4 separate regions of the Homo sapiens genome follow, and all the other regions are linked to region 1. The links are contacts of gene promoters, found by promoter capture Hi-C in human tissues and cell types (Jung and others, 2019). All regions are on one chromosome and are shown on one strand. Each heading gives the region's core, a stretch centred on a gene start or on the middle of the fragment in contact. The rest is flanking DNA. Distances are from core to core; before and after follow the strand shown.

Region 1 (4,936 bases), core at 1,001-3,500:
CTCACCCCAGAGACGCCCTTCTTGATTCCCCTTCCCATCCCTGACCTCCTTCTGCCACTTCCCCCCTCACCTTCTTCCCTTCTTTCCCCAGCAAGAAGGGGTGGCTCCACATCCATATGCCCCTGGCGAGGCCATTGGCGCCCCACCTGCAGCCCTGCAGGGATGCCTCTCCTCCTCTTGGCCGGCCGCCCTCACCAGACTCCTGCAGGGGAGAGAAGGGAGAGCATCAGTTGGTCGGTTCCTTGTCCCCACAGACCGGAATACCAGACCCAGCTTCCCCCAGGCAGGAACCCCCATCCTTGCTCCCCGCCTCCCTCCTGCCCCGCCCCGCCCTCACCAGGCCCGGCAAGCCCTGAAGCAAATGGTTGAGGAGGAAGGACTTCCCTGAGTGCTGCTCCCCCAGGACAGCGAGGAGGCAGACTGGGGTGTCCCTGGCCAGAGGGTGCTTCAGGCAGCGGTTGATGGCCCCCATCCTAAGGATGAGGCCCCCAGAGGCATTGATGCGAACCAGCAGCAGCGGCTCCGCCCTCACAGGACACGTCTCCTGGGCCAGGAGAAGAGAGGGGCCCCTGAGCATCCAGGACCAGCTCCTGACCCTGGAATGTGTTCAGCCTGGAGCTCTGTGTCCTGATGTTCTAGAATAGGGCCAAAGCCACCCCCTCCTCTTGGGTCTGACTGATTAGGCCCAGTCCCCAGACCTGCAGTGCAGGGGGCAGCGGCCGCTGCGGCAGGAGCTTCATCTTCTCGCCCAGGCTCCGGAGGCCCCTCTTCTGCTTGCATATCTTCCGGCACTCAGGACAGCAGGGCGGCTCACAGCCCGGGAGACGGTGTGTGCTGAAGCACCGTATGCAGAAGTCGTGGCCACAGTCCAGCGAGATGGGGTCGCGCAACCTCTCCAGGCAGATGGAGCAGGTAGGGAGCTCCCGGGGCGCCATGGGCTGGGGCCCCAGGCCTAGCTCCAACTTGGGGAAAGGTGTATGGGACCTGTGGGGCAAAACAGGCCATTGAAAAGCAGGATGTCTATTGGGGGCAGGGGGTACCGGCCAGGGTTGTGGTGGAAGACTGATGGCTTGGGAGTGGAGGTCCCTTTGTGCCAACCCAATTTCCATCAGTGCCTCCATGGACAGGCGGAGCTGCTCCCAGAGAGGCCAAGCTCTGCCCGTTCCTCACTGACATGTGTCCTAGGACCTGGGGGCCTCAGAGTGGGGGCAGCAGAGCAATGGTGAGAGAGTCTGAGAGGGAGAAAATCTGAGTGGAATGGACTCCACCACATCCCAGCCATGCAAATGCAAGCAAGTTCCTTCCCCTCTCTGGGCCTCAATTTCCTAACTGTCCCAATGGAGAGGATAGCAATACCCCTCATGGGGCCGTTGGGGTGGCCATCCGAGAGGAGGCGTGTGCAGCTGTCTGCACAGTGCCTGGTGCAAATGCTTGGGAAGAGCCTCTCCCGGCGTTCTACAGCGGGGCTCCCTCCATGAGGTGCTGACTTCAGCCAGGCCCCCAGGGATGATACCCTCCACAACCCCATGCTACAGGGACAGTGAGGAGAAGCCATCAGCCTGTGCTGCAGTTGGGCAGATGGCTCTGGATCTTAGAAGATTCCTTCCGCTCTCTGCTCTGAGCTGGCATCTGCCTCCCTGCAGCACCCACCTGCTTCTTCCTGTCCCTCCCTCCACAGCCTGGCGGATCCAGCCTCAGGCGGACAGCCCTCCCGGCTGGGCTGCCGGGCTCTGTGTTCCAGGACCGGCCATTTCAACTGACCTGCCTGGCCTCACTGCACCCATCCCAGCCTGGAAGGCCCTGCTACTTACCAACTGTTGCCGCTGTTTCCCATGAAGCTCTGTTTTCTCTCCTTGGAGAAAAAAAAAAAAAAAAAAGATTTAGAACATAATCCAGACTTCTATCTTCACCCTGGATTTCCAGGGACCCCTCATCCTCCCCACCCCCGGCCCATCCCCCAGCCCAAGGAGGGCCCTTCCCACCCCACTCTCCTTCCCGATCTTAGGACTGAAGACTTGCCCGTTTGCCAAGCCGATGACAAAAGGAAGTGACTGACAAGGCGGGCCTTGGCATGGGAGGCTGGGATGGGGAGAGGGTCCGGATGCAGAGGGGGAGGCCCCGAGACCTTCAACCAGAGGTAAGGATGCCTTTTCTCCCGGAAAGGCTAGCAGGCTGCGGTAGGTAGAAGGTGAGGTCGGGGGATGGTATCCCCGAGGAGCTGACTCCCGGTCAGAGCTGGAAAAGAAATGTGACAGTCAGGAAAGAGGAGGCTGCTGCTGGACTCACCCCAGGGGGAGGAGACACGGCTGCGGGTAGCAGGGCTCCGAGGAGGGAGGGATGGAGCCCGGCTCAGAATCCCTGGCAGAGGCTGGGATGCAGGCAAGCCGAGGTGGTGAGTCGCCATGGAGACAGAAGGGAAAGATAAGGACAGGGAGGGGGAGGGGGACAGAGAGGGAGAAGGCGTGCGGTGCACCCGCAAACATGGAGGCGCCTCCGGCAGAACCATGGGCCAGCACTGCCTCTACTGGGCCAGCTGAGGTCTCCCCAGGGCCACAGGACAGGGTGGGCAAAGAGAAGAGGTGTGAGAAACAGGAGAGGGTAAGACCAGAGCTGACCCAGAGACAAGGAGTTATTCATCCATTCATCCAATGAACAGTTACTGAGTACCTACTATGTACAGAGCCCCCAAATGCAGACCCTACTTCACATGGCCCTGCACATCCTCCTGCTCTCTCTCAGGTTTATGTCATCGACGCCCAACCCAGCTGCAGCCTTCTTCAGCACTCATGGGCCCTCCGTGTCCTCTGGTGTATTTCCCTCCCAATAGCTTTCACTCTGCCTCAAACTTGAGCAGGATGAAATCTATCAAAACTATGAGCCACCTCTGGACCTTCTAATGGCCTCTTGACTGGGCTCCTTGCCTCCCTTCCACTCCCCAGTGCACAGCCAGCATAGGCTCCCCAAGCACAGATGACCTCACACTGCGCAAACACCTTTTGTGTCTCCCTACTACCATCAGATCAAAATCCAAACTCTCCGGCCTGCGGACTGGGCTGAACCTTCCTTCCACCCTTCTCTCGCCCCACTCTTCCCTGCCTCTGCACCCTGGCTTGGCTGCTCTGCTCCTTCTCATCCCTCCTGGGACACCCTCTTAGGCCCAGTGCAGGTGCTGTGGCCTCCCTAGAGCCTCCTTTCCTCACCCCTCCCAACTGGGTGCGGTCTTGTTCTTGGACAGTTGAGGGCTGGGATATGTGATAGGCTTGGCGCAGCCCAGGCTTCAGAGCCAGGCAGATCTGGGCTTGATTCTCGGCTCAGGGGCTCTGGGACTCCACTGCACCTCTCTGTGCTCTGAGGAGCCACCATTACCTATGTAAAGCCACTAGTCCAGGCACGGGAGTCATTCGTACATCCTATGAGCTAGGATGCAGAAGGGTTGGGGTGAGGTGGGATTCAGAACCTAGAAAAGTTCAGCAGAGACCACCTTCAGCAGGTGGAGACACCCCTGAAGCTGGGGCTGGATCTTGTTCATTTTGGTGTCTGGAGGGCCTGAGATTGTGGGGCTGAATCAATCAGATTCAGAGAAGCAGTGCCATAGACTCTGCCTCCTCCTGCCCCAGGTGGGACAAGCCCCTGTGTGTTGGCAGCAAAGCCTCACACTCAGGGGATGAGGAAGCAAGCCTGAGCCGTGCCACAGCTCTGCCTTCAGGGCAGAAGGGAGGGTTTTCTCAACCCCTGTAGCCTTTCATCCTTGCAGGAGAGAAAGCGTGGGCGCTGGACTCAGATTCAAGCTCTAAACCTGCCTCCATCCCAGCATGAAATGCTGGTGAGTCACTGCCCTCTCTGAGCTTCCATTTGCTCATCACCAGGCAAAGATGTGAGGAAGCAGATGGGACAATCAGTCTTCACTTAATGATACTTACTGAGCACCAGGTACTGTGTCTCACACTGCAGTACAGCTGGAAACAAGAGAGACAAAGCTCCATCCTCCCCAAGATCCCAACTGGACAATTAAAAGGCATTGCTATGATCTGGGTGAGAACCTGGATGCGGGGAGGGTGAGGAGGGGTGTCAGGCTGTCCTGATAAGCAAGGAGGTAGAAAAAGGTTGTCAAGGCAGGGCAAACCACAGGTACAGGGCCCAGAGGAGAGGGGACACAGAACCCATTCTGGGGAACAAAGGAGGTCCGGCTGGCCTGGCAGGAATATTTGATGCAAAGATGGGTGCACCAAGGTGAAGGGCAGAGCAGGCCTGGGTCATGCAGGCCCTCAGGGGCCAAAGGAGGGGATAGGGACTTCACCAGTCAGTATCTCAGGAGGGATCCCGCAGGGCAAACATGTATGGTAGAAGCCTCACTCTTAGGGCTGGCTATATAATTTTATTTATTAATTATTGTTATTATTATTATTATTTGAGATGGAGTTTCGCTCTTGCTCAGGCTGGAGTGCAATGGCATGATCTCGGCTCACTGCAACCTCCGCCTCCCAGGTTCACGCGATTCTCCTGCCTCAGCCTCCTGAGTAGCTGGGATTAGAGGCATGTGCCATGACATCTGGCTAATTTTTGAATTTTTAGTAGAGACGGGGTTTCTCCATGTTAGTTAGGCTGGTCTTGAACTCCCGACCTCAGGTGATCTGCCTGCCTTGGCCTCCCAAAGTGCTGGGATTACAGGTGTCAGCCACCACGCCTGGCCAATTTTGTTGTTGTTGTTGTTGTTGTTGAGATAGGGTTTTACTCTGTCACCCAGGCTGGAGTACAGTGGTGTGATCTCAGCTCACTGCAACCTCTGCCTCCTGGGTTCAAGCAATTCTCCAGACTCAGCCTCTCCAGTAGCTGGGACCCCAGGTGCACACCACCATGCCCAGATACTTTTTGTATTTTTTTGTAGAGACGGGGTTTCATCATGTTGCCCAGGCTGTTCTTAAACTCCTGAGCTCAA
Region 2 (4,936 bases), core at 839-3,338, 62 kb before region 1:
ATCACTCGCGGTTAGGAGCTGGAGACCAGCCCGGCCAACACAGCGAAACCCCGTCTCCACCAAAAAAATACGAAAACCAGTCAGGCGTGGCGGCGCGCGCCTGCAATCGCAGGCACTAGGCAGGCTGAGGAAGGAGAATCAGGCAGGGAGGTTTGCAGTGAGCCGAGATGGCAGCAGCACAGTCCAGCTTCGGCTCGGCATCAGAGGGAGACCGTGGAAAGAGAGGGAGAGGGACACCGTGGGGAGAGGGAGACCGTGGGGAGAGGGAGAGGGAGGGGGGAGGGGGAGGGAGAGGGAGCGTGGGATTTTTCTAAAGGGCACCTTAAGAAAAGCCTACAGCTAACATTGCACTTAATAGTGAAAGACAGATGTTTTACCCCAGTCCTAAGATCAAGAACTTAGAAGACCATCACTTCTTTTAAACCTTGTAGTAGAGATTTTAAACAAAAACAAGAAATAAAAGTCATCTAGATTGGAAAGGAAGAAGTAAAACTATCCCTATTCCAGATGAATCCACAGGATATGCAGAAAATCCTAAGGAATCCACTAAAACGTTTTAATTCCACAAGTTTGCAGGATAAAAGATTGCTATGCAAAAATCCATTGCTTTTTTTTTTTTTTTTTTTTTTTTTTTTTCAGACAGATTCTCACTCTGTCGCCAGGCTGGAGTGCAGTGGCGTGATCTCAGCTCACTGCAACCTCCGCCTCCCAGGTTCAAGCAATTCTCCTGCCTCAGCCTCCCGAGTAGCTGGGACTACAGGCGAGCGCCACCACGCCCAGCTAATCTTTGTACTTTTAGTAGAGATGGGGTTTCACCATGTTGGCCAGAATGGTCTTGATCTCTTGACCTCATGATCCGCCCACCTCTGCCTCCCAAAGTGCTGGGATTACAGGCATCAGCTGCTGCGCCCAGCCAAATCCATTGTATTTCTACATACTAGCAATGGGCTGGGTGTGGTGGCTCACACCTATAATCCCAGCACTTTGGGAGGCCAAGGAGGAGTGCTTGAACTCAGCAGTTCACGACCAGCCTGGGCAACATAGCAAGATCCCATCTCTTAAAAAAATGTTAAAAAAAAGAAATTAAAAATAAAAAAATATATACTAGCAATGAATAATTCAAAAATAAAATTAAGAAAATAATTACATTTTAAATATCCTCAAAATAGTAAAGTACATAGGAATAAATTTAATAAGAGAGGTATAAAATTTATACTCTAAAAACTACAAAATTTCATTGAAAGAAATTTAGAAAGACCTAAATAAAACTTTCCACGTTCATGGGTGGGAATATTGTTAAGATGTTGGTACTTCTGAAATTGATCTAGAGAATCAATGCAATCCTATCAAAATAATGACTGGATCCTTTGAGGAAACTGACAAGCTGGTTCTAAAATCTGTGTGGGTACTCAATGCAGCAGCGTAGCCAAAACAATCTTGAAAACAGAACAAAGTTGGAGGACTCATACTTCTGGATTTCAAAATTTACTATAAAGCAACAGTAACTAAGAGACGGTGGTACTGGCATGAGGATAGACATATAGATCAATGGAATAAAATTGAGAGTCCAGAAATAAATTCATGTATCTATGGTCAACTGATTTTCAACAGGGCTGCAAAGACCATTCAGTGGAAAAATAATAGTCTTTTCAACAAATGGTTCTGGGATAACTGGATATCCACATGCAAAAGAATGAAGTTGTATGCCCACTTCATGTCATGTACAAAATTAAGTCAAAATAGACCAAAGACCAAAATGTAAGAGCCCGAACTGTAACTCTTTTAGAAGAAAACATAGGGCTAAGATTTTGTGAGCTTGGATTCTTAGATATGATGCCAAAAGCATAAACGACATAATAAAAAATAGATACATTCGGCTTCATGAAAATTAAAAACTTCTGTGTTTCAAAGGACACTACCAATAAAATGAAAAGACAGCCCACAAAATGGGAGAAAATATTTGCAAATCATATACCTGACAAGGAATTCATATCTAGAATATTGTGTTAGTCCTTTTTGCACTGCTATAAATAAATACCTGAGACTGGGTAATTTACAAAGACATCTATTTGGTTCACAGTTCTGCAGGCTGTACAAGCAGGCAGCCGCATCTGCTCAGCTTCTGAGGAGGCCTCAGGAAGCTTACGATCATGGCAGAAGGCAAAGAGGGAATAGGCACATCACATGGCAAGTGGGAGAGTGGGAGAGAGGCGAGGAGGTGCCAGGCTCCTTTTAACAACCAGTTCTCTAGTGAACTAACAGAGTGAGAACTCACTTATTACCATGGGGAGGGCACTGAGCCATTCATGAGGGATCTGCCCCTGTGACCCAAACATATCAAATATATAAAGAACTCTTACAATGCAATAATAAAAAGACAAATAACTGGATTTTTAAAATAGACAAAAGATCTGAAATTTCCCCAAAGAAGATATACAAACTGGCCGGGCGCGGTGGCTCACGCCTGTAATCCCAGCACTTTGGGAGGCTGAGGTGGGTGGATCACCTAAGGTCAGGAGTTCGAGACCAGCCTGGCCAAAGTGGTGAAACCCTGTCTCTACTAAAATACAAAATATTAGCCGGGCCTGGTGGTAGATGCCTGTAATCCCAGCTACTCAGGAGGCTCGGGAGGCTGAGGGAGGGGAATTGGTTGAACCCAGGAGGCAGAGGTTGCAGTGAGCAGAGATTGCACCACTGCTCTCCAGCCTGGGCAACATGAGCAAAACGCTGTCTCAAAAAAAAAATGTATATATATATATATATATATACACACATATACACACACACAAACAAACTGCCCAACGCCCATGGAAAGATGCTCAGTATCAATTGTCATCATGGAAGTCTAAATCCAAACCACATTGAGATGCCACTTGACACCCACTAGGATGGGTATAGTAAAAAAAGACAAGTCATAACAAGTGTTGGCAAGAAGTTGGAGAAGTGTTGACAAATGAAACCCTTAAATGCTATTGGTGGGAATGTAAAGTGTTGAAGCCCCTTTGGGAGATAGACTGGCAGTTCCCAAACTAAACAGTGTCACCATTTGACCCAGCAAATCCACTTAGATTATATCAAAAAAAATGAAAATATATATGCACACAAAAACTCTTACCTAAACATTCATGGTATGTTCACGGTAGCCAAAGATGGAAACAACCCAAATGTCCATCAGCTGATTACCAAATGTGGTGTATCCTACACTGGAATATTCTCCAGCCATGAAAAGGAATGAGATACCGATCCATGCTCCAACATGGATGAACTTTGGAAGCACATGCAAAGGAAAGAAGGCAGTCACAGAGGACCATGTGTACACTCCATTTATGGGTGTGTGTGTGTGTGTGTGTGTGTGTGTGTGACGGAGTTTCATTCTTTCGCCCAGGCTGGGGTGCAATGGTGCAATCTCAGCCCACTGCAACCTCCGCCCCTCGGGTTCAAGTGATTCTCCTGCCTCAGCCTCCCGAGTAGCTGGGATTATAGGCACCCACCATCACCCCCAGCTAATTTTTGTATTTTTAGTAGAGATGGGGTTTCGCCATGTTGGCCAGGCTGGTCTCGAACTCCTGAACTCGGGTGATCCACCCGCCTTGTTCTCCCAAAGTGCTGAGACTACAAGCGTGAGCCATTGCGCCCAACCGACTCCATTTATATGGAAGTCCATAATAGGCAATCTTAGAGACAGGAAGTAGATTAGTGGTGTCTAGGGCTGCAGTGGACGTGGGGGATTTGGGAATGACGACTAATGAGGACAGAGTTCCTGTTTGGGGTGATGGAAATGTTCTAGAATTGATTGTGTTGATGGTAGCTCTGCTCTGTGAATATATTAAAAACTATTGACTGCTCACTTTATGTTGATGAATTGTATATGAATTATATCCTTTTTTTTTTTTTTTTTTTTTTTTTGAGACGGAGTTTCGCTCTTGTTGCCCAGGTTGGAGTGCAATGGTGCGATCTTGGCTCACTGCAACCTCTGCTTCCCAGGTTCAAGCTCTTCTCCTGCCTCAGCCTTCCAAGTAGCTGGGATTACAGGCATGCGCCACCACGCCCAGCTAATTTTATTTGTATTTTTTAGTAGAGACGGGGTTTCTCCATGTTGGTCAGGCTGGTCTCGAACTCCCGACCTCAGGTGATCTGCCCACCTCAGCCTCCCAAAGTGCTGGGATTATAGGCGTGAGCCACAGCGCCCGGCCTGAATTATATCTTAATAAAGCTGTGACATGACCTGGAACCCCTAGGGTCCTGCTGAACCCAGTCTCCCGCTGTCTGCCACACTCAAAGCACGCCTGCCTTCCATCTAGCCGTTGCTCCTGTCTTCTTCCTACAGTGCCACCTGCCCAGAACCGCTCCACGGTCCATGGAGATCGGTTTACTTCTCTTTTCGCCTGCTTCCGCAGCCAAGACTCAACTCCCTCCCATCCATGAGTTCTCTTGGAGTATCTTTGTGTAAACAAGGTCTCAGTAACTAAATCCTGTTTCCATCTCCCTGCATCAGTGTTCTCTGGCTGGGTGGGCGGAGCTCCTTTGGCTCGGTCCTGCTGATGTCCTTAAAGGCCTCAGCCCGTGGAGTCAAAGCCTGGGGCCAGCGGCTGCAGGATTCTAAACACTGTGAGTGCTCAGTTGCGCAGCTGGGTGTGGGACTGTGTGACGGCAAGAAGCATCCAAAGGTGGACGTGGCCAGGGATGGGAGGAGCCATCGGAGAGGTGGTAAGGACAGCGACCGAGTTCCCCGAGAGAGGCGAGTCTTAGTAATTCGGGAATTCAGCCCCCACGACTGTGGTGAGTGAGGAGGAAGAATGCGGAATTGAGAGATGGAAAATGAGGCAGGCACTGGCCCCAGCCCTGGAAAGCCGTCCCTTCTCCTGTTCTGAAAGCCGACTTCTCCCACCTGGACGTGCACCCCATCTCCCCGGGAGGCCCCGGAGCCTGGCTGCAG
Region 3 (4,936 bases), core at 838-3,337, 53 kb after region 1:
ACCAGCTTGAGAGTTAGAGCAGGCTCCCTGAAGGGTAAGTTTTGAAGGGTGAGCAGGAGTTTTCCGGATGAAGTAGGAAGGACAAATCAGACAAGGCAGAGCCTGAGCAAAAGCCAGGGGCCGTGGCACCTGGGAGTCTCCCGTGGACTCCCGCTTCTTGGTCCTCAGCCTCTCCTCTGAACACATCTCCAGCCGTCTCTTAGACCCACTCCCAGGTGTCTCACGTTCAGAATTCCCCTTGGCTGCACCTGCCTAGCAAATGCATTGGCCTCAGCATGAATACCAGTCGACAGAATCTGTCTGTGCTTTTTTCAGTTTCCAGAGTATGATGACCTCTACTGCAAGTACTGCTTTGTGTACGGCCAGGACTGGGCCCCCACAGCGGTAAGCTGGACTCTTGGGCCTCCCTTACCGCCTTCATGACTTTTGGGGTTTCTGAAGGTGTCATATCCTTCCCCTCCCCATTCAGAACAAGTTAAGAGGTAGAGACTGAGTTCAGGGGAACCCAAACATGAGTGTTCCTGGTAAAGCGGGAGCAGAGGACACAGCCATGGTTGGACTCCCTGATCCATCCACCAAGACTGCACTCAGAAGCCCTACCCTGTGAGCTTCCCCGGGGCAGCAAAGAGCAACACCTGCAGTAGGAGGCAGGCCCCAGTGAGCCAGCCTGGACGTGGCTGAGCTGTGGACACTCTGGCCAGTCCGCTCACCATTTGGCCTCTCCTCAGCCAGTGGGGAGGACCTGGAGTAAAAAGACAGAGTAGGAGCTCTCCTTCCAGGACTTCCCAAGGGGTAGCTTGCCTCCACCAGGTGAGGGACTGTGGTGACAACTTCAGCCCGCTCTGTGCTCTGCTGTTTGCAAAGCACTTGTTTCATCTTCATAGCAGTTTAAGAAAAGGAGACTGAACTTATTTAAGCTCTCTGAGCCTCAGTTTCCTCATTTGTACAACTGAGATGATAATCCTTCTTTTCCCTTTATTGATTGTCTTCTGGGTGCTGGGGATGCAGGGGTGAGCAAAGCCAAACCAGAAGACCCTGCCTTCCCGGAGCGCACGTTCTTGCTGGGGGGTCAGATAATAAGGAGTGCATATTCTAGGATGTTAGTAAGCCAGAAGTGTGAGGGGAGACCAAGCCAGGAAGTGACAGGGATGAGTGATGAGAAGGAGGCTGCGATCTCGCTAAGGCTGCCAGGGAGGGCCTTGCCGAGAAAGTAACTTTTGAGGAAAGACCTGAAGGAAGTGAGGGAACAAGCCATGTGGAAACCCGTGAGAACTGTCCAGGCAGAAACAGCAGAGAGTGCAAAGGCCCTGGAGCAGGAGCTTGCCTGGCATGTTTGAGGACCAGCAAGGAGGCTGTGTGGCCACTGGAGAGCGAGCCAGCAGGAGAGTGGCTGGAGCAGAGAGGCACCTGGGCAGGTCTTGTCAGAGTAAGGACTGTGACCTTTACTCAAAGGGAGATGGGATCCCACTGGAGAACTTTCAGCAGAGAAAGTGATCTGACTTATGTTTTTAGAAGATTCCCTGGCTTCTACGACAAGGATAGACTCGGGGGGAAAGGGCAAGAGCAGGCAGCCCAGTTGGCTCTGACAGCAGTGGAGATGGGAGAGGAGGGCAGTGGCAGTGGGGTGGTGGGAGGGGCTGGACTGCAAGTATATTCTGAAGATAGAGCCGCTGGGTTCTTTTGATGGATGTGAGGTCTGAGAGAAGGAGGAGTTAGGATTCACAGCAGGGCTTTTAGCCTGAGCACTTAGAAGTAGGCAGCTGCCTTTCAGTGAGAAGAACAGATTGGGGAGAGCTACCTGGAGCTCAGCCTGGTGTGGGTTAAGGTTGAGGCACCCACTGGATATCCAAGAGGAGGTGCTGATCCAGAGTGCAGAGGCAAGGACCAGGCTGGAGACATAAATTTGGGAATCATCGACATCTAGAGCACATTGAAAGCCATGAGATGGATGAGATCACCAAGTACAGGTAGAGGAGCTGGCCAAAGATGCAGCCTTAGGACGGCAACACTGAGAAGGAACCAGCAAGAGCCACTGAGCAGGGGCCACCCTGTGCAGTGGAGAGACCCAGAAGCCAAGGGAAGACAGTGTATCAAGGAGTAAGCAGCTGCATCAGGTGCTGCTGATGGGTCAAGTAACACGAGGATAGAGAAATGACCATTGGATCTAGCAATGTTGGTCACGGGCATTAATGGAGAAAACCCTTTGGTAGAGTGCTGGAGCCAGCAGTCACATTGGAGTGGGGTCACAAAAGAATAGCAGGGGAGGAATTGGAGCCGGTGAGTGTGGCAGCTCTTTGAGGCAGTTTTGCTATAAAGGGAGCAGAGAAAGGGTTGGTGGGTGGAAGAAGCCGCAGAGTTGAAAGAGGACTATTTTTGATGGAGAAAACACATTTACGTATTTACCGATGGGGATACTCAGGTGAGGATGGGGATACTCAGGTGAGGGTGGGGATGCAGGAGAGTGTAAGCATGCTGGACCATTCCTTCAGTGGGGCAAGAGCTTGGGACCAGATCTAGTGCCCTTGTGCCCGGGAGAGTGGCTGGCCTCCCAGGGTTGTCAAGCTACGGCGTTAAAGTACCAGACTTAAAGAGGTACTCCATCATCTCTTAGTCCCCTTTGTTTGGAAGTTCGTGTCTTGGGAGAAGACAGCTGAGAAAACAGCCCTCCCAACTGCCTGCTGAAGGTAAGGGGAGGAGCCGCAGCAGCTTGGCTCTGCTCTGAATCCAGCCGTCTGTGTCACTGTCCTCACAGGGTCTGGAGGAGGGGATCTCACAGATCACATCCAAGAGCCAAGATGTGCGGCAAGCACTGGTGTGGAACTTCCCCATTGATGTCACCTTTAAAAGCACCAACCCCTACGGCTGTGAGTCTGCAGGGGCCCTGTGGGGTAGGGTGGCAGAGCTTTCACACAGCACCCCCAAGACAGCCTCTGCCTCATCCAGCCCATGACTGTTCACATTCAGATTGTCACCTGGGCTCTTGAAGCAGCCCTCAACGTTCTCTCTCGCCATCTGTCCCTTTCCCTCCTCTTCTTCCTCATCCCCACTCACCCCCTTCATCTGCTACAGGCTGTGCAGCTGGCCTTCTGGAAGTTCAGAGTGCATCAGGGCTAGTGGCCACGCCTGTAAAAGGCAGGCTCCCCACCCTGGCATGCAGGACTGTGGCTGTTTGGCCTGGAGGCCTGACTCTGTGCCTGCTGACTTCCCATGGCGTGTTGTGTTCCGGCTAGACCCTGGCACTTTCTCCTCCTGTGCTAGTCCCTCAACTTTCTTCATCTGAGCTTTATTCATGCCGATCCATCTGTCTGGATACCATTCCCACGTCCTATGTCTAACCTCTTTCCCAAGGGCTTCCTGGCTGGCATTGCTTACTTTCTACCTTGGCTGGTGGTTATTAACCATTCTGATTGTTCACTTGCACTTCATAAGTGCCTACTGTGCACAAAGCCTGGGCTTAGTCTCCATGGGGACTATGAATACTTTCACTGTGTGGACTTATCCGAGCTTCCCAATCATACCTGCTGGAGAGATTTCTCTCCATTTCTTTTCCCATATAAGGAAACTGACACTCAAAATTGACATCATTTGCCTTCTGCTTTACATCTAGTGACCAAGTGTGGATTTTAATTCAGGCCCATCTGATTTCACAATCTAGGCCTTTCTACTGCACGTGGCCTGGGCCTAGGCTTACCACGGTGTGGAGGGTCTGGAGCAGAAAATGCTTGGTGGTCCTCCTGAGCAGGGAATTCCATCCTGCTGTCATCATCCATGAGTAGGAAGTTTCAATAGACTTCCTGGAACAGTGCAATAGGTACTGTAGGTACTGGACGAACCTCCTCCTGCCGAGGACAGGTAGGAGAGGTAAATGTAATACACAAAAGCAAAAACAAAAAGCAACTACCTCAGAGGCATCAGAGAGCTAGCAAAGTAGAAGAGATTTACCAGGCAAGATCCAGGAGAACAGAAATCCAGAGAGGTTACCCCAATCCCATCTCCTCTGGGAGTGTTTGCTGATTTCAATAGAGGTGATTGAGAGACTGATCAAGACTTTTGACAGCCTCTCTGGGTCCAGGACACAAAAAAACTGATGTTCAGAGCCTTCCAAGGGGTTGGGAGGAGGGCCTCAGGTAAATCTCACCAACTGGGTTAAGACCTCAAAGAGCTGCCCTAGGAATAAGGGAGAGATGGAAGCAGAGCAGCCTCACAGGGATTTCAGCTCAGCCCCTGATGATTTCAACCTCCTGATTCTTCTATTCAGCTCCAAGATTGTTACACCAAGGCACCTGACAAAAACAAATTAGAAACCTCTTTGGGCTGGGCATGGTGGCTCATGCCTGTAATTCCAGCACTTTGGGAGGCTGAGGCAGGCAGATCGCCTGAGCTCAGGAGTTTAAGACCAGCCTGGGCAATATGGCAAAAATCTCTCTCTACTAAAAATACGAAAATTAGCTTGGCATGGGGGTGGGCGCCTGTAATCTTAGCTACTTGGGGGGCTGAGGCAGAAGGATCGCTGGAGCCTAGGAGGTCGAGGCTGCAGTGAGCAGAGATTATGCCACTGCACTCCAGCCTGGGTGACAAAGTGAGACCCTGTCTCAAAAAAAAAGAAAGAAAACTCTTTGGAGAAAGATAACATCTCATAGACATAAAATTATTTCTATATATTTTTTCAAATGTAGTATCTGGCATATAATGAGGCACACAAGAACCAAGACAACATAAATGATAACCAGCAAAAATAAGGCAATAAAGCAATAGAGATAAACAGAATCTCTAGACACTGAAATTGTCAGATATATTTTTACTATGATCAAAAGAGATAAAACAGACTGAGAATTATGGCAGAGAACTAGGAAGCCTGACTTTTTTTTTTGAGACTGAGTCTTGCTCTGTTGCCCAGGCTGGAGTGCAGTGGCACGATCTCAGCTCACTGCAAGCT
Region 4 (4,936 bases), core at 1,700-4,199, 42 kb before region 1:
GCGTGAGCAGCCTTACATCTGTTCAACTCTTTCTTTACTGCAATGCATTGGTCTCCTTTGTGCAGTGGCCAGGAAGAACCCATCAGGCAGCTACAGCATCACTGTGAGGAGAGAGGGAAGGTTCTCACTCCAGCAAAAATGGGAGTACTTGGGGGCCTCATCACACATGTTTATAAATGGTACCCTAAATGAGTGACTGAGGCAAGGCTCAATGATTTGAGGTTTAGTAAGCTAGAGCTTGAGGGCACATCTGAGGAAAAACTCAAGCCAGAGACGCACCTGTGGCTGTTTTTTTGTGGAGAAGTTTTCAGGAGCTTCTGTACATATAAATTTCCTTAAAGTGGGGGAATGCATGTAGGAAAAGGGGCAGGTAGGTGGCAAGGCAAATGTTACATTCTTGTGAGACTTTAGTTAGTGTCCAGTAAACCTACATTTTACATCAGATAAGGTGAATGTTTGAAGGAAGAGGGGAGTAAAGGAGGTCTCAATTATGCTGATGTCTCTTGGTAGGGGAAGGAATGGTTGATCTCATGCCGACTTTGTTCTGCCCCTCGGAAGATAAGCTTGTAATGGACATTGTCAGCGTGGAATGCAACAACAGACTTTAGTTTTAGGAGCTGGACTTGGATTGCACATCTCAAGTCCTTATTTATGGGAAGAAAGACATCTTGAAAGGTGTGTGAAAGGAAAATAAATATTGAGACTCCCAAACTCACTCAGCCAGAGGGAAAAGTCAAGCTGGGAACCAGCGCATGCAAACCTGCCTCCCATTTTGGGTCACAAATAAGATGGCTGCAAAGATGAAAAGCTACATACCTCCCTCACATTTTAGGGTAAAGATCCTTATGGGCCTCAAGATCTTTACTCTAAAATGTTTCTCTTGCAGTTCACCATGGCAATGTAAATTGATAGCTTATCTTCACAGGTGCTGGGACATACGACAGAGCTCAGATTCATGCTTCTGCCCATGTGAGACAAATGCATATCTTACTGTTTCCTCTGCCCTATGGTCTATGGCATCTCATGTAAAAATTCAGATTCACTGAGCCAGGCAAAGGCATGAATGACTGTTTTTCCCTACCCCGCTCTCACATGAAAGTTGTGTATTTCTCAATATTCCGCCCATTCCCCTTTAAATATTGAAGCCACCAAAATTATCTTCAGAGAAAGGCATAGACCTGTCTCTGGGAGTGCATCCTTAACTTTGGCAAATAGGCCTCCCAAAATGATTGAGACTTGCCTGGGTTATTTTCCTTGATTGACAGTAAGTCAAGTCAATTGACATAAGAGTTTACTTATGAGTGCTTTGTGGGGGTTGTCATCTGGAGATGCCTGAGGCCCTTCCATGGGGGTCTAGCTAATGCCTAATGCTTTGACACAAGGTTGTGAAGTAACAGCAATTCATTTGGAAGAGGGTGTTGCCAGTGACTCAGCCTCCAGGCTTAACTTTCCCTTTGGCAGAAGGAGTTGAGTGGTCCTGAGATTTTTTATTTCCTTGCATAAAGACCTACTAAAAGCAAAAGTGTTTGCAGCACCGCCATTCACTTGGCAATTCAGGCAAAGTGGCTGTGGAGAGGTGTCTGGGGATGAGACTTATCGTGGTGCCCACACTCCCAGGGAGCTCTTCTTTAGCGTTTCCACTCTGACCCTGGCTGATCACCTCTCACGGAGAAAAGTGCAGGGGTTGCCAGGCATTTGAAGAGCACAGTTCTAAAGTTCCTGGTTGCTTCTTTGGCAGAGCACCTGGGTACCACAGCTGTTTGCTGACAGCGAAGTTCCCTTCATTTTGAAAATCTGAGGATGCTGTCTCAGGGTTAGTAGGGGCCGTGCTGACAGGCAGGAGATCGGAACTCAATTTGTGTATTTCTGCATTAAATGGGGATGTGCACTTCACCTGGATCCCTGTATGACTTGTCTGACGTCACCTGAGTAAAATCCCCGTAGTTAGAAGGATGGAGAGGCCCTGCATTCCCGTTCATCCTGAAAGTGAAAATCAAGTGCACTTTCCCCCTTTTGTTCCAGGGGAAGTTCTGTCAACCCTGGCCTGCTTTGGGACACCAGTGGACCTCCCCAGAGCTGGTGGTGAAAATTCCTGGAGGTCAGGATGCTCTTGCTGGTCATTGGAGAAAACCACAGGAGTAGCAGACTCCTCTGTCTCCTCACCAGGCCAGACCACGCTCAGTCTCTGGGGTCTTTCCCCAAGATCCTTCCAAGCACATTCCCTTGGCTGAGGTTTTGCTGGAGACTGGGGCTCCCTGGGCAGCCACGAGGCCCACAGCAGCTGGGGCTATCCATGGGAAAGGCCCAGCTCCTGTCCACAGCCACAGTCCCTGAACCCAGCGACCCCATGACACTGCAGGACCCTTTCTCCCACTAGGGCCCTACATCCACCCTTCCTTGGGGGCAGGAGGCTGGAGATATCTAAGGTCCAGGGGATCCTGGGTGAGGATGGGAAAGTTAATCACCTTATCTAGTGTGTTAGTCCATATTGCTTCACTATAAAGAAATACCTGAGGCTGGGGGAATTTATATAGAAGAGGGTTATTTGGCTCACAGTTCTGCAGGATGTACAAGAAGCATGGCACTAGCACCTGCTTCTGGTGAGGCCTCAGGGAGCTTCCAATCATGGCCAAAGGCAAAGGGGAGCCACTGTGTCACATGTGAGAGAGAGAGCAAGAGATGACAGGCTGTCTTAAACCACCAGCTCTCATGTGAACTAATAGAGTGAGAACTCACTCATCAGTTCAGGAAGGGCACCAAGCCACTCATGAGAGATCTACCCCCATGACGCAAAAACCTCCCACCAGATCCTACCTTAAGCACTGGAGATCACACTGCAACACGTGATTTGGAGGGGACAGACATCCAAACCATATTCACCAGTCAAGAGTACCTGACGAGCCCTTAGAGCCCATTTTTATTCCCAAGTAAGTGATTGGCTGGATGACTTCCCTTACCTACTTTGTCCAGAGGCTGTTCACCTGGGAGACCTGCTGGTATATGGGCCACGGAGATTTGCACCCCCTTCCCCGGATTCTCAAGTGCCACTAGAAGTCTCCAGAACTGTGAATTTATTCTAGCACGCCCTGCACTTCACAAGAAAAAGAGATCTCTCCCTGGGCTCCTGCCGGCTCCTCCAGGATACAGCACTGGAGAAGGCAACTTGGTGTTTCCTATCTCCGCCACTCTGGATTTGGGAATCCAAACCCAACTCCCTTTCTATCACTGACAGCGATTGAGGCCAATGCCTACTCCTTTGGGATGATGCTCGCCTGTCTCAGGACCGACTGACCCATGTTCAACTGCTTTTCACATGGAATCCTTCTCCACTTTGGCCTTCAAAACGCTCATTTGAATATTTACTACTACCACCAAGATCTGCCCCTGCCATGGTGCCACCTGGGCCCACCCCTAGGCTTGCAGGCACACCACAGTGGCCCCTTCTGCCAGTCCCAGCCAGTGTGTGTGTGCATGACCCTGCGTGTGCATGTCTGCATGTTAAGAGGGTAGATACAATGTCAAGCATTCTTAAAAAGATTTTTGAAAGATATTTTTTAAAAGTCAAAGAACTGTAGAATGTTTTTAAAGTATGTATTTGTGCATTTTTTGATGTGTTAAATGGGACGATATCAGAATCATATAAACAAAATTGCGCCAGGCGCGGTGACTCGCCTGTAATCCCAGCACTTTGGGAGGGCGAGGCGGGCGGATCACAATGTCAGGAGATCGAGACAGTCCCGGCTGACACGGTGAAACCCCGTCTCTACTAAAAATACAGAAAAATTAGCCGGGCATGTTGGTGGGCGCCTGTAGTCCCAGCTACTCGGGAGGCTGAGGCAGGAGAATGGCATGAACCCAGGAGGCGGAGCTTGCAGTGAGCAGAGATCGTGCCATTGCACTCCAGCCTGGATGACAGAGCAAGACTCCGTCTCTAAATAAATAAATAAATAAATAAATAAATAAATAAATAAATATAAAAAATAAATAAAAATGCTAACATTCCACATCTCTGGAAAGGTCTATAGAATTCTGGGAGGTAAACTTTGTCTTCCAAACATCTGTCCATTAATTGTTTGTTTACTTATTTTTTTGAGACAGATTCTCTGTCACCCAGGCTAGAGTGCAGTGGTGTGTTAATGGCTCATGGCAGCCTTGGTCTCCAGGGCATAAGTGATCCTCCTGCCTCAGCCTCCTGAGTAGCTGGAACTATAGGTGTACATCACCATTCCTGGCTATTTATTATTATTATTATTAGTAGTAGTAGTAGTAGTAGTAGAAACAGGGTCTCATTATCTTGCCCAGGCTGGGCGTGATACTCCTGAGCTCAAGCAATCCTTCCATCTCAGCCTCCCAAAGTGCTGGGATTACAGGCATGAGCTACTGCACCCGGTCTGTTCATTCATTGTTTTGTTGTTGTTGTTATTGTTCTGTTTTTATTTGTTTGTTTTTCTCACTATTGAAGATAGAAATTTTTTAAATTAATTGTTATTAGAAAAATAGGCATTTGCATTATCTGTGTTAAAGAAAGTTCCCCCAGATAGTGTTCCATGGAGCCAGTGCCTAGAAGACCACATCTTCTATCTTGTCCCCTTTACGTTTAATACAGTGATGAAACAATCCACTAACAACGGGCAAGTCCTCAATTTTCAGAGGTATTTATAACCGCACACAAGCACGGGATTGATTTTTCTGATGCCAATTTGCCTGTTATTCCCCTCTCAGTTGGATCTGTTTTCTTTTTTTCTTTTTTTTTTTTTTTTGGAGACGGAGTTTTGCTCTGTCACCCAGGCTAGAGTGCAATGGTGTGATCTTGGCTCACTGCAACCTCTACCTCCCGGGTTCCAGCAATCCTCCTGCCTCAGCCTCCTGAGTAGCTGGGATTACAGGCATGCACCAACAAAACCCGACTAATTTTTGTATTATTAGTAGAGACAGG

Evidence for each region. The method cuts DNA at HindIII sites, captures the fragments that hold promoters and counts their contacts. A contact is called where the count stands out against the background at its distance.
Region 2: a fragment that was not itself captured here is called in contact with the fragment with the promoter of RNF112 in region 1 in 1 of the 25 tissues and cell types used here (lymphoblastoid cells).
Region 3: a fragment that was not itself captured here is called in contact with the fragment with the promoter of RNF112 in region 1 in 2 of the 25 tissues and cell types used here (neural progenitor cells and spleen).
Region 4: a fragment that was not itself captured here is called in contact with the fragment with the promoter of RNF112 in region 1 in 6 of the 25 tissues and cell types used here (liver, lymphoblastoid cells, mesenchymal stem cells and 3 more).

What each region holds. Positions count from the first base shown.
Region 1 is chr17:19,408,546-19,413,481 of GRCh38, reverse strand. RNF112 (ring finger protein 112) reads right to left here and starts at 2,250. Exons shown (of 14, transcript NM_007148.5): 1 at 2,020-2,250; 2 at 1,812-1,852; 3 at 699-984; 4 at 338-544; 5 at 71-202. The coding sequence starts at 2,073. The HindIII fragment of the contact is 25,812 bases long and covers 174-4,936 here.
Region 2 is chr17:19,470,666-19,475,601 of GRCh38, reverse strand. No RefSeq gene overlaps it. Among named protein-coding and RNA genes, the nearest start is that of TRW-CCA2-1, 35 kb to the left of the region's middle. RefSeq lists enhancers at 1-496, 4,091-4,600. The HindIII fragment of the contact is 4,473 bases long and covers 1-4,324 here.
Region 3 is chr17:19,355,768-19,360,703 of GRCh38, reverse strand. It overlaps B9D1 (B9 domain containing 1), which reads left to right. Exons shown (of 7, transcript NM_015681.6): 2 at 316-384; 3 at 2,753-2,864. Among named protein-coding and RNA genes, the nearest start is that of B9D1, 4.5 kb to the left of the region's middle. RefSeq lists an enhancer at 2,503-3,002. The HindIII fragment of the contact is 5,514 bases long and covers 1-4,844 here.
Region 4 is chr17:19,450,747-19,455,682 of GRCh38, reverse strand. LOC105371574 (a long non-coding RNA gene) reads left to right here. Exons shown (of 3, transcript NR_188341.1): 2 at 2,023-2,098. Among named protein-coding and RNA genes, the nearest start is that of LINC02094, 35 kb to the right of the region's middle. RefSeq lists enhancers at 1,784-2,283, 2,284-2,785. The HindIII fragment of the contact is 5,812 bases long and covers 44-4,936 here.